3 separate regions of the Homo sapiens genome follow, and all the other regions are linked to region 3. Evidence: promoter capture Hi-C in 16 types of primary human blood cells and fetal thymus (Javierre and others, 2016). All regions are on one chromosome and are shown on one strand. Each heading gives the region's core, a stretch centred on a gene start or on the middle of the fragment in contact. The rest is flanking DNA. Distances are from core to core; before and after follow the strand shown. Region 1 overlaps TARS1-DT (TARS1 divergent transcript). Region 2 has its middle 200 kb from the start of RAI14-DT. Region 3 holds the start of RXFP3 (relaxin family peptide receptor 3).

The links. Contacts are between HindIII fragments. The CHiCAGO score rates a contact against its expected background, and 5 or more counts as called.
Region 1: a fragment that was not itself captured here is called in contact with the fragment with the promoter of RXFP3 in region 3 in 6 of 17 cell types (activated CD4 T cells, total CD8 T cells, naive CD8 T cells and 3 more); the score reaches 7.3 in activated CD4 T cells.
Region 2: a contact is called between a fragment that was not itself captured here and the fragment with the promoter of RXFP3 in region 3, in 1 of 17 cell types (M2 macrophages). The highest score is 5.5, in M2 macrophages.

Annotation. Positions count from the first base shown.
Region 1 is chr5:33,415,746-33,419,604 of GRCh38, reverse strand. All of the region lies in intron 2 of TARS1-DT (TARS1 divergent transcript), which reads left to right. Among named protein-coding and RNA genes, the nearest start is that of TARS1-DT, 23 kb to the left of the region's middle. The HindIII fragment of the contact is 1,610 bases long and covers 651-2,260 here.
Region 2 is chr5:34,457,210-34,460,614 of GRCh38, reverse strand. No RefSeq gene overlaps it. Among named protein-coding and RNA genes, the nearest start is that of RAI14-DT, 200 kb to the left of the region's middle. The HindIII fragment of the contact is 1,983 bases long and covers 378-2,360 here.
Region 3 is chr5:33,934,378-33,937,857 of GRCh38, reverse strand. It overlaps RXFP3 (relaxin family peptide receptor 3), which reads right to left and starts at 1,472. Exons shown (of 1, transcript NM_016568.3): 1 at 1-1,472. The coding sequence starts at 1,117. The HindIII fragment of the contact is 5,701 bases long and covers 1-2,548 here.

The sequences.
Region 1 (3,859 bases), core at 206-2,705, 520 kb after region 3:
AGGAATACGCAGTGGGAAGAGCAGAAGAGAAGCCCTGTCTTCACTTTGTTGGATCATTCTTATTAAGTTGCTATACTTCTCTGAAAGTCAGTTTGTGAAAGTTTCTCTCTACATAAAATAAGAAAAGGAAGTTATCATAATGATAGTTTTAAAAAATTGTTTAATGCAAGGACTGGCAAACATTTTCTTGAAAGGGGCAGATAGGAAATATTTTTGGCTTTGCAGGCTGCGTGGTCTCTGTCACAACTACTCAACTCTGCCGATGTAGAGTGAAAGCTGCCATAGACAATACGTGAATGAATGGATGTGGCTGTGTTCCAATAAAACTTTATATACAAAAAGAACTGATGGCTCACAAACCAAAGTTTGGTGATTTTGGTTGGAATGTTTGCATTCTTATTATTTGACAGGTACCACTTCACTGCTTTACATACATGAATATGCCTAAAGAGGTGGAAACTATTATTGTCATCAGTTTATGAATGAGGAAGCCAAAGCTCAGAGAAATTGATCTACTTGCCCAAGGACACATAGCTAGTAAATGGCAGAGCTGAGTTTGAGCATGAAGTCTACCTCCGTCAGTCTCTTACATTTTTCTTTTTTTCTCTTTTTTTAGACAGACTTGCCTTCCCACCTAAAAGCTAAAAGCTTCCGTAAGGGATTTGCAACGACCCAGGAGTATTAGCTGAGTGTGGTGGTGCATGCCTGTAGTCCCAGCTACTCAGGAAACTGAGGCAGGAGAATCGCTAGAAGTCGGGAGGCGGAGGTTGCGGTGAGCCGAGATCGCGCCACTGCACTCCAGCCTGGGCAACAAGAGCGAAACTCTGTCTCAAAAATAAATAAATAAGTAAAAATAAAAATAAAAAAAGACCCAGGAGTAAACACTAGGAAATTTGATATAAACCTTAATAACTCCAACTGGTGAGTGATATAGAAGAGCATTCAGAGTAGTTTGTCACAGAACATACTTTCCAGATGAATCTTGGAATTTAGCTTGGTAATACGGATAATTTGCTTTTTCTGATGTTTGACTATACTTGTTCCACCCATATTTTAGCTTAAAGGGGGATTCCTCTTCTCTCCAAATATATTTACTAGCTTTCCCACCTTTTCCCCCTCCCTTAAAAGCAAGAATAGTACTATTAAGATGCACTACTTACTTGAACTTCTCTTTTTTAAGTGAAAAAACTCAAAGCATATTTTTTTCTTTTACCCTTTCAAGAGGTAAAATTAAAAAGCAGTGTTTCATAAATGGAAACAATGAGAAAACCTTGGCAAGCACCATTGAGATGATGAATTGTAATTCAACATGAAAGTCATTCCCATCCTCTTGTGTGATTTGACAGTTACTTAAGGGCTTCCATCTTTGGTTGTATGGCCTTTGTGATAATAAAAGTGTATGCATTTTTACAATAAGACTGTTGGATTGTTACTCAGACAGAACAGTTCATTTGATGAGACTTAGCAGTATACTGAGATTCCAAGTTGGTTTATCTCCATCAGGGAGAGGAGAGCTCCCCCGATACCTCGTGTTTTCTATCCGGCTCCCAGGGCAAGCTAAGACTGAATGAAAAAATAGTGGAGTATTGACTGACAAACATTTTCTGGGAAGGGGCAGATAGCAAATATTTTTTATTTTGAATGCTACATGGTCTCCATCACAAATACTCAACTCTGCTGACATAGCATGGAAGCTGCCATAGACAATATGTAAATGGTGGATGTGGCTGTACTCCAGTAAAACTTTACCAAAAACCTGATGGCTCACAATCCAAAGTTTGGCAACTTTGGTTGGAATGTGTGCATTCTTATTATGTGACACATACCATTTAGCAGCTTTATATACATTAGTATGCCTAATGTATATAAAACATAAATGTAAAATGTAAAACTCCCACATTTTCAGTGTAGTAGAACCAAATATCACACTTTTCTATAGGCTGGCTGTGGTTTATGATGTTCTTCTCAACCCTTCTCTTAGATTTTCAAGAAGATCTTAGCATAGGGTCTCTGAAAGGGAACAGGGGCTCCAGAGAAAGTCTTGTAGTGCAGCAAATATTCCCAGTGAACCTGACCTAAGCAGTGTGAACTTTCTCAATTCAAAGGTTACCTCTTAATCAATCAGATCTGGAAGGATGCAAAACAGTCCCCAAGATTTGAGCTTCCAGAACAAAACTATCCACCCATGTATGTGCAGTGCCATGGCTAGAACTCCTGGGCTATCTTTTTGTAGGATGGAGCCATTCTGGCTTCTGAAGCTTGGTGAGCTTGCCCTTGTTTTTGGATTGGAGTCATGAATGTTTTATGGACAATAAACCTCCTTGACAATTCTCTGGAGGTCTTCTTGGATTATTAACTCTGTTGAAGGTCTGATTAAGCCAAATCAGCATTTGCAGTTCCTTTTCTGGGAGGAGCAATGCAGTGATGCAGGTGTATAGTTGCCACTAACATTATCATCATCAAGTGGTAATTAGTGACCCATTGGGGATAGCACTGATGCTAGGCATCAGTGCTATCCAGCTGTCTTTCCAGAGTCTCTCACTTTCAGGAATCTCCACATTCTGGGGTCCCCAAGCTAGTCTCTCATTTTTATTCTCTACCTAAACCTGGCCCCTCCAGGTGTGTTACAGGTCTCTGTATCTTATTCGTTTATCTAACCCAGGTATGCACATGTTGCTTGTGTTGGAATAAAGTCTCATCAGGTTGTTTTAGGAAAATTAACCTTACTTTTTAAATCACAATTAGGTGTGAAAGAGGCAAAACAAGATTATGTTTCTTCTTGTTTTCTTGTTTTTTTTTTTTCTAACTAAGAAATACCAACTGTATGAGACACTAGGTTGAATTATAGTTCTCCAGCACAATCAATTAATATATGTATAATATTAAAGTACATGGTTACAAAAGGGATAACAGTAAACTTTTGAACCCTTGATGTTTCAAGAGGAATTCCTTACAAATGAACTAGAAAGTACATGTTTATGATAACAGGATATTTAGAGACACCAAGGCAAAGATGTGATATTTGAATTCTTGAATTGTCTGGAGAGTTCTCTTAATTATCTACTTATTGATGTAGAATTGATCTTCTAAGAAACTACATAGCTTATTTTTAGAAGTATTCCTAGAGAGAGATAATTATACTCTTGTTTTTCATTTCTGGTAAAGTTTACTTTGCTGGAAAAGGATGCAATAAGAGTGAACATTTAATTACGATCCAGCAGCATAAAAATTTGTCATTTCAACTATCTGTACTGTTCTTTAGAAACACATTTTATTTTAATCTAATGTTTTGGTATGTTTATCATCAAATACATTTCTTCTAAATATACAGCAGGGTCAGAGTTTTCCCTAGGACATCATACTATCCAGGGAAAATTAATGACTTAGTAACACAACCTCTGCCTCCTAGACCAAAAAAAATTTTTATGTTTATGAAAGTAACATATGCAGTACTTCTCCCTTATTTACAGTCTTGCTTTCCATAGTTTCAACTACCCTCCGTCAACTGTGGTTCGAAAATATTCGATGGAAAATTTCAGAAATAAACAATTCATAAGTTTTAAGTTTTTCAGCATACTAAGCGGCATAATGAAATCTTTCATCATTCTGCCCTGGAAATGAATTCTCCCTTTGTCCAGTGGATCCATGCTGTAGACACTACTTGCTCATGAGTCAATTAGTAGCCATCTTGGTTATCAAATCCACATTCACATAACTTTATTAGAGTGTAAAGTTATACTTGTTTTATTTTACTAATAGTTATTGTTCTTAATCTCTTACTGTGCCTAATTTATAAATTAAACTTTATCATGGGTAAGTATACATAGAAAAAAACATAGTATATATAGGTTTTGGTTCA
Region 2 (3,405 bases), core at 120-2,619, 520 kb before region 3:
TATAACTTTGCAATGGTGAGTTTCATAACTTTAAATGATGACTGTCACAGATTTCTTAATCTAGGTAAGTGATTAAAATAAAATAATTAGGTAAATGTAATAGAATAAATACTTGTAGATGAGCTCTTCATAATTTAGAATCTAAAGTTATAGTAAATTAAATAATAAATATTTCATTATTTGGGTATTTTCCAATAAAAATATATTGTAGGAAAACCTTTTTTCTAAAAAAGTGTCCTTTTTAAAAACGTGAACAATTTTGTCTAATTTAAAGCTTATTTAAAGGTTATATATAAAACAAGGTAAAAAGAACCAGGAAATAAGAGAGATGTAAAGCAAGTTATAGAAATAAAGAGACATTTTTGAGTAAGAAAGCTTAAAGAGAAATAATTTTATATGAGAAAGAATCTTGTATGGTAAATTTAGTCCTAGAATAAAATGTCTGGTTTTTTAAGAAAGAGAAATGTTCAGGACGAACCAGAAAGTCCAAACATGTCATGAATGGTCTGCGTAAGTCACAATAAGAGGATTTACTAAAACAGACTTTTATGTGATCAAGTTGTCTATTATTAAAGAGAAATTATAATGGTCCTTCTGGAGACTGGGTTTAATATAAAAAAACGCTTATACACTAAAGAATTGGTTAGAGCAATGAAATCTTCTTAAGGGACTGATTTACTCTTAATAAATTATAATAGATTTTAATTTTTTTAACCCAAAGTTCAATTTTTATTGCATCTCACTCTTTTCAGTTTTCTCTCCCCTCTTTAAAAGGCATGAAATAATAACACTTTCCTTCAACTCATTTTCAGCTCATATAAGATTTTTTCCCCCCTAAAGCTCTGTTCATTGTGGCCTGATGCTAATAACGTTTTCTTAAAGGCTAAAGGAAATGTTTTCTTCCAACATAATATTCTGTGCACTGCAGAAGGTCTTTTCTTTTGCCTTTTGCTAACTGGCCCAACAGATTTTACATTTTATTGAAATAATTCTAATGTCATTATTATTAAGTTTTGGTTTGCTTAGAAAAAAGATATTAAAATTTTTTTTAAATTGAGGTTGTTACATCTGTGTATCTTTCTGTATGTGCTTTTAAAGTCCTTGTGACATTGAGTTACAGGGCTTTGACTCTGGGTCTAAAAACAACACCAAGTCCTGTTAAATCTTAAACACTGACAGCAATTAAAGCCTTACTATCAGGCCTGGTAGAAGATGCCAATAAAATAAACTGCATTTCTGAGACACAGGGCCGGAAATTAAAGCTATTCAACTCCTCAAGGCCCAGAGACTATCATGGAAGAGGTGGTCATGTGAGATTTAAAGAACCAATTTTGAGAAATAAAATAAGTTCAGTTTTTCTGTGAATTAACCATTAATGTCAAAGATACAGCAATACAAGACCAGCATATGGGCCCCTGTGTCAGATTAACAAAGTTTTCTTGAAACATTAATGGACTCCTCAATAAAGGTTAAAAGTTTTATGGAAGTTATATCTTATAGTCAAGGTTAAAATTTTATAGATTGTTTATAAAATTTTGGAAAACAAATTTAATTGGCTTTGTGCTGTTTTTATTAGGGCTTATTTTTAGGAAAATTAAGTCTCCTCTCTCAAAGAATGAAGGTTTCACCTTTTTTGAAATCATTGAGTTATCACTTTGTGACTGTGATCCTCTTTTGTGATATCAAGTGTTTTAAACCTTTTATATTTGACAACCTTTCCAAAATCAAATTATAAATTATGTATTTTTCTGACCTAATTAGTCATTTAAGATATTAGATTCCTAAAGTCCAAAAGTGACACATTTGGCTTATTTCGTATAAAAATTATACAGGAAGCATTGTCAAATAAGAAATAGTATTTGGTTTTCTTTGGGCTGTATTTGTATACATATGTTATTTGTATGTGTTCCAAAATTATGGAAAACTCCTATAATTCTGATATGACTTAGTGTACATTATCAGTAATAATTATAATTGTTACATTAAATTATTGTGTACTACATAGGTAACAAATTTTCTTGTCAATTGTGTCTGTGACTATGGCTGCCCTAAAACTTTTTGTCATCCATGGGCAATTACTGTCTTGTTTTGGTCCTCTTTAGAAGGTGGTTTTATAATCAGCTATAAAACTCTAACAGTTACTCTTGAATGCAAGATTCTGATAACTTTGGAGATTGTGACTTCAGAATAAAGGAAAAACTTTCAGGACTCATGGAGAGTTGAAATGTTCATTAATATCAAGCAGAACAGAAGATAACAAAGTTATCTTCATGGACTGAACTAATAGAAGACTAAAGGAATCTTTTTGACTTTTTGCTTAAAATGTTGCTGATCCTTTATTTTTTGGAGTCAAGGAAGCTTTTCTTTTGAGCTATTGACAGCTTTTAACAATTTAATATACTCCTATGGACAAAATTCAGAGCATATTTGTTTCTCTCTACCTGATTTCTCTGGAATTTGGAAACTGTGAGTATTCTTAACTTATGGCAATATAGTTTTTTACATAAGTGCAATAAGAATCTGTTTTGAGTTGTAGCAGGATACAATTGGAGAAACTGGTTATTTTACCAAAGCTTTGGCTGGAATGGTATGCTTTCCTTTAAGGAATTGAAATTGACTTAGCCAATAAAAGCCACTTGGGAAAACTGGCCTCATACCTTGTCTACACAGTCTCTGTACAGGGTCAAAATGTCACAGAATGTACAGAATGTCACTTCCTGACAAGTCCAGAGCCCCCAGTTATCTTGGGACCTCAAGAGTAGAAGAATTCATCCAACTTATACGTATTCGATTGTACAAATTCACAGCTGGGCTCGGCTTAAAAAAGTCTTATCTGAGATTCCTTCTGTAGAACAATGTTCCATCAAAGCCAATTTTAAAAGCCTATGTGAAAAATAATTACTCTTGCTGCACTTTATAAAAATAATCTGGCCAAGTATAATAAAGCAAATTGGTCCTACCATGATTTGTCTTTAGTAAAAATGGGAAACTGGAGAGAGAAAAATTATGTTTCAAAAAGCTATATAGTACACCAGTTGTTAGAGTCCAGTCTTGCCTAATGTTTTTCAGTTTTTACTATTTTCTACAATTTGGACTGAATTTTAATATTTCCTGGCTAAAATGTTTCCAAAATACTGTTTTCAATTTTTCTTTCTTCCTTTTTTTCTTCCATTTTTCCTAATTTGAAATCACTGAAAACTAAGTTGTGCTTTCTTAAAGCCCTGTGAACTGAATCTAGACAACTTAAACTTCAGAAGAAAATAACAGTAACCTATTTACATATGTAAGCCATTTTCAAACTACCTACTGATGTGTGGACTTCAGAGTAATGTGGCCTGTATTAATTTTCCAGGATTGTTCTTTTGTTTGCTGTTCTTTTTCTCCCTTCTTCCCCCTATTTTTTTC
Region 3 (3,480 bases), core at 223-2,722:
CAGGGAACGCGTATACCTGGCACAGGAAATACTCCTGGCTGAAGGGCACCGCGTTGAACTTGATGAGGATGCTCCAGGTGGTGAGCGCCTGGTTGGGCAGCCAACACAGGAAGAAGGACAGGACAACGATGGTCACTGATTTGGTGACCTTCGACAGTCTCCGGGCGCTGGCTCCGGTCGGGCGTCCTCCGGCTACCGCGGCCCCTCCTTTGGTCCCCGCCGCGCGGCGGTCGGCGATGAAGCGCACCAGCAGCAGGTAGCACAAGATAATGATGCCCAGCGGCAGCACGAAGCCCAGCAGCACCTTCTGCGAGTGGTAGAGGCCCAGCCAGAACTGCCTGTCGCGGCCCAGCAACTTGTCCGGGAAACGCACCAGGCACAGCTCCTCGCCCATCACCTTGACCGTGGTGGAGAAAATGGCACTGGGCAGCGAGGCCAGCGCGGCCAAAGCCCAGATCCACACACACAGCGCCTTGGCCGAGAAGCAGCAGCTGTCCCCCAGGCTCCGGCCGCAGCAGTCGCCCCGGCCGTGTCCTCGGGTCCGGTGGCTCTTCAGAGCCGAGGCCACCGAATGGTAGCGCGTCACACTCATGGCAGTGAGGAAGAACACGCTGGCGTACATGTTCATGGACGTCACCATGGACACGATCTTACACATGGCCTTGCCGAAGGGCCATTTGAAGTCAAGAGCGTTCTCCACCGCCCAGAAGGGCAGGGTGAGCACAAACTGAAAGTCCGTCAGCGCCAGGTTGGTGACGAAGAGGTTGATAGAGGACTTGCGCCAGCCCTGCATGCTCTTCATCAGGTAGAGAACCAGCAGGTTGCCCGCCAACCCCAGGGCGCACACCACCCAGTACACCACGCTGATGAGAATCCGCACCCGGGCCTCTGTGTCCGCGCTCTCTGCCCCGCCGCTGCCCGGGGGATGTCCTGGCGGCGCGCCGTCCGGCAACTCCAGCCCCAGCTCCCACCACAAGTCCGGAAGCTGCAGCGACGCGTTACCACTCGTGTTGGCCGCCTCCAGAAGGTCCGGGACCAGACTGAAGAGTTCTGCTAGCTTGTCCCCGCCTGCTGCCTTATTCATGGTGGCTATCGTGGCTGCATCGGCCATCTGCATGCGCAGGTACCTCTAGGTCATGTTCTGGGGGACAAGACCTAAGATAACACGGTTTACCCCAGTTTTGTTGCCAGGCTAGCCTGCGGGACGTGCGTGGGAGCTTTCAAAGCAGCTACTGAAGAGAGAGCCCAGGAACTGGGTACTAAGCGCGTCCTGGCGCGCAGCGAACGCCCTGGACGCAGGAGTTGAGCTCAGCGGCTGCTTTGGAGCAGAGTTGAGGAGTGCAGCCCGTAAGGCAAGCACTCGGCGTCCAAGGGTTCTCAGGCCAAGCTCGGAGTCCCTAGGTCCTTATGTACAACGCAGACTTCCCCTCTCCGTGTCCCGCGGTCACTGGGGCACTGGCGCATAACTCCCCCAGCCGCTCAATTGTGCGATTTGGGGCCGCTCGCTCCCTTTCAAATACCTTTATCCGTTTCCTCTGGGACTGCTTGGATGAGGTTTCCGTCCTTGGAGAGAAAGAGATCGTAGAGTTCCATCCACCACGCTCAGCTTCCTGGAGGTCAGTGGGTGTCTGCGTCTCTCCGCGGTTGTCAACTCCGGGTGGGTTGCCAGCGGCTCTCACCAGTTACGGTGGCACTTGCACGGCCAAGGCGGCGGGCCCCAAGGAGCATGCGTAATCCCGGGGCGCCGCGAGGGGCGCTTTCCGAGGTGCTGAACCCAGCCGCGCCCGCGCCGCGAGGGAGAGTTGAGCTGCAGGCAAAGCCCACCCGCCACTCCAGTTTTCCTCTCCAGAGTTTCAGCAGGAAGGGTCTTAAGAGTTTATTTTACAGCTGCAGGAGAAAGTCGGCTTTGACGTGAGTTTCTTCTTCCTTTCTTATTCCCAAACATTATGATTAGAAGTTTTTTTTTTCTTTCTTCCTCACTCCCACTTTTCACCGGAATTATTCCATTTGGTGAGGAATTGTTCTAAAAATATGAGCTATCCTGCTTACTTTCCTTCTTGAAAGTAATAACAGTGGCCTCTTTTCATGCTCAAATGAGATAATGGGTACTTATTGGATACACAAAGGACAGCTCCACCTCCCCTCTTTAATTAGCTGACCACTTACGCAGTACCTGTGTTTGTCAGGATTTTCAAAGGGTCTTCACATGGCAGAAGTCTGGGCTCAAGGGTTGCCCCTACTTTAATGTATTCTGAGAGGTGACACAAAAACAGAGCAAACAACTGATGGTCCTACTTCACAGAAATTAAATGCCCTAAGCCCAAAGCGCTTCAACAAATTGTTTGATCACATACAGGCCACAGTCTCTTTACCTAGATGCAAATAGAATAGAGGATACCACTGGGCTGATCGTGAACCACCAGCCCTCCTATTTCCATTACTGTTAGCATCAGGACTCTTTTTCAGGCGTTTTTCAGACCAATGGAAGTACATTCTAAGGACTCTTCCAAGGGAATGAGTGGAAACCACTTGAATTACTTCTCAAGCTTCAGTCTACATAAATGCCAGGTCAATCGCTCTGGTGTAAATTACACTTTTAGGATTTACTTTAAAATTTTGAAATGTTTTCCTCTTGGTCTGGGACTAAACTGAAACCAAAGTTTCTTAAGCATAATTGTCCTCACTCCTGGAGTACTACAGAACTCCCAGCTTTACTTAAGGAGATAAAGAGGATGCAACCTTCAAGCTGAGGAGATAAGAAACAGAAAAAGAAAGAAAGAGAAAAACGAAAAAGAAAGAAAGAAAGAAAGAAAGAAAGAAAGAAAGAAAGAAAGAAAAGAAAAGAAAGAGAAAAAGGAAAAAAGAAAAAAAAAGAAACAAGAAACAATCTTGATTCCAAAGGACTTTTAGCCCTGAAGAGCACACACCTTGCTACGGATGCTGCACAGCTCCGTCTTCCCACTAGAGGGAGTAAGGGCTTTAGTAAAAACCTAGCCAAACACAAACATCTCCTTTGATCAGTTCTTACCTGGAGATCACCCCTGCCCTGAGGATTCCTCCCAAAGCACAGGTTATTTCTATGGATGACTATTATCCTGGTTTTAGTAGCCTCACTTTCACACTCAGTTTTGACTTTATTTTTAACTGGTTATTTCTCCATCAATTTTCTCTCTCTCTTCATCTATGTCTCTATTTCTCTTTTCTAATATTTCAAGGGGCTGTTGAAACACAAGAAAAGCTGGGGCATACCCTGAAAGCTCTCTGCTGTTAAATTTTTGGTATGTTCACACCAATGACCTCCATCTAACACATACACAGCTTCTCAGTGCTTCTAGGCACACCCAGGAATATATCTACTTGGTCTGCTCCAAATCACATGTACATATTCATACTTTATGAAAAAATTATAGGGGCCTGATTCAATTCATCTCACATTCATTGGCCACTTACTCTTGCCAGGCACTGAGATAGGCTGAAAGA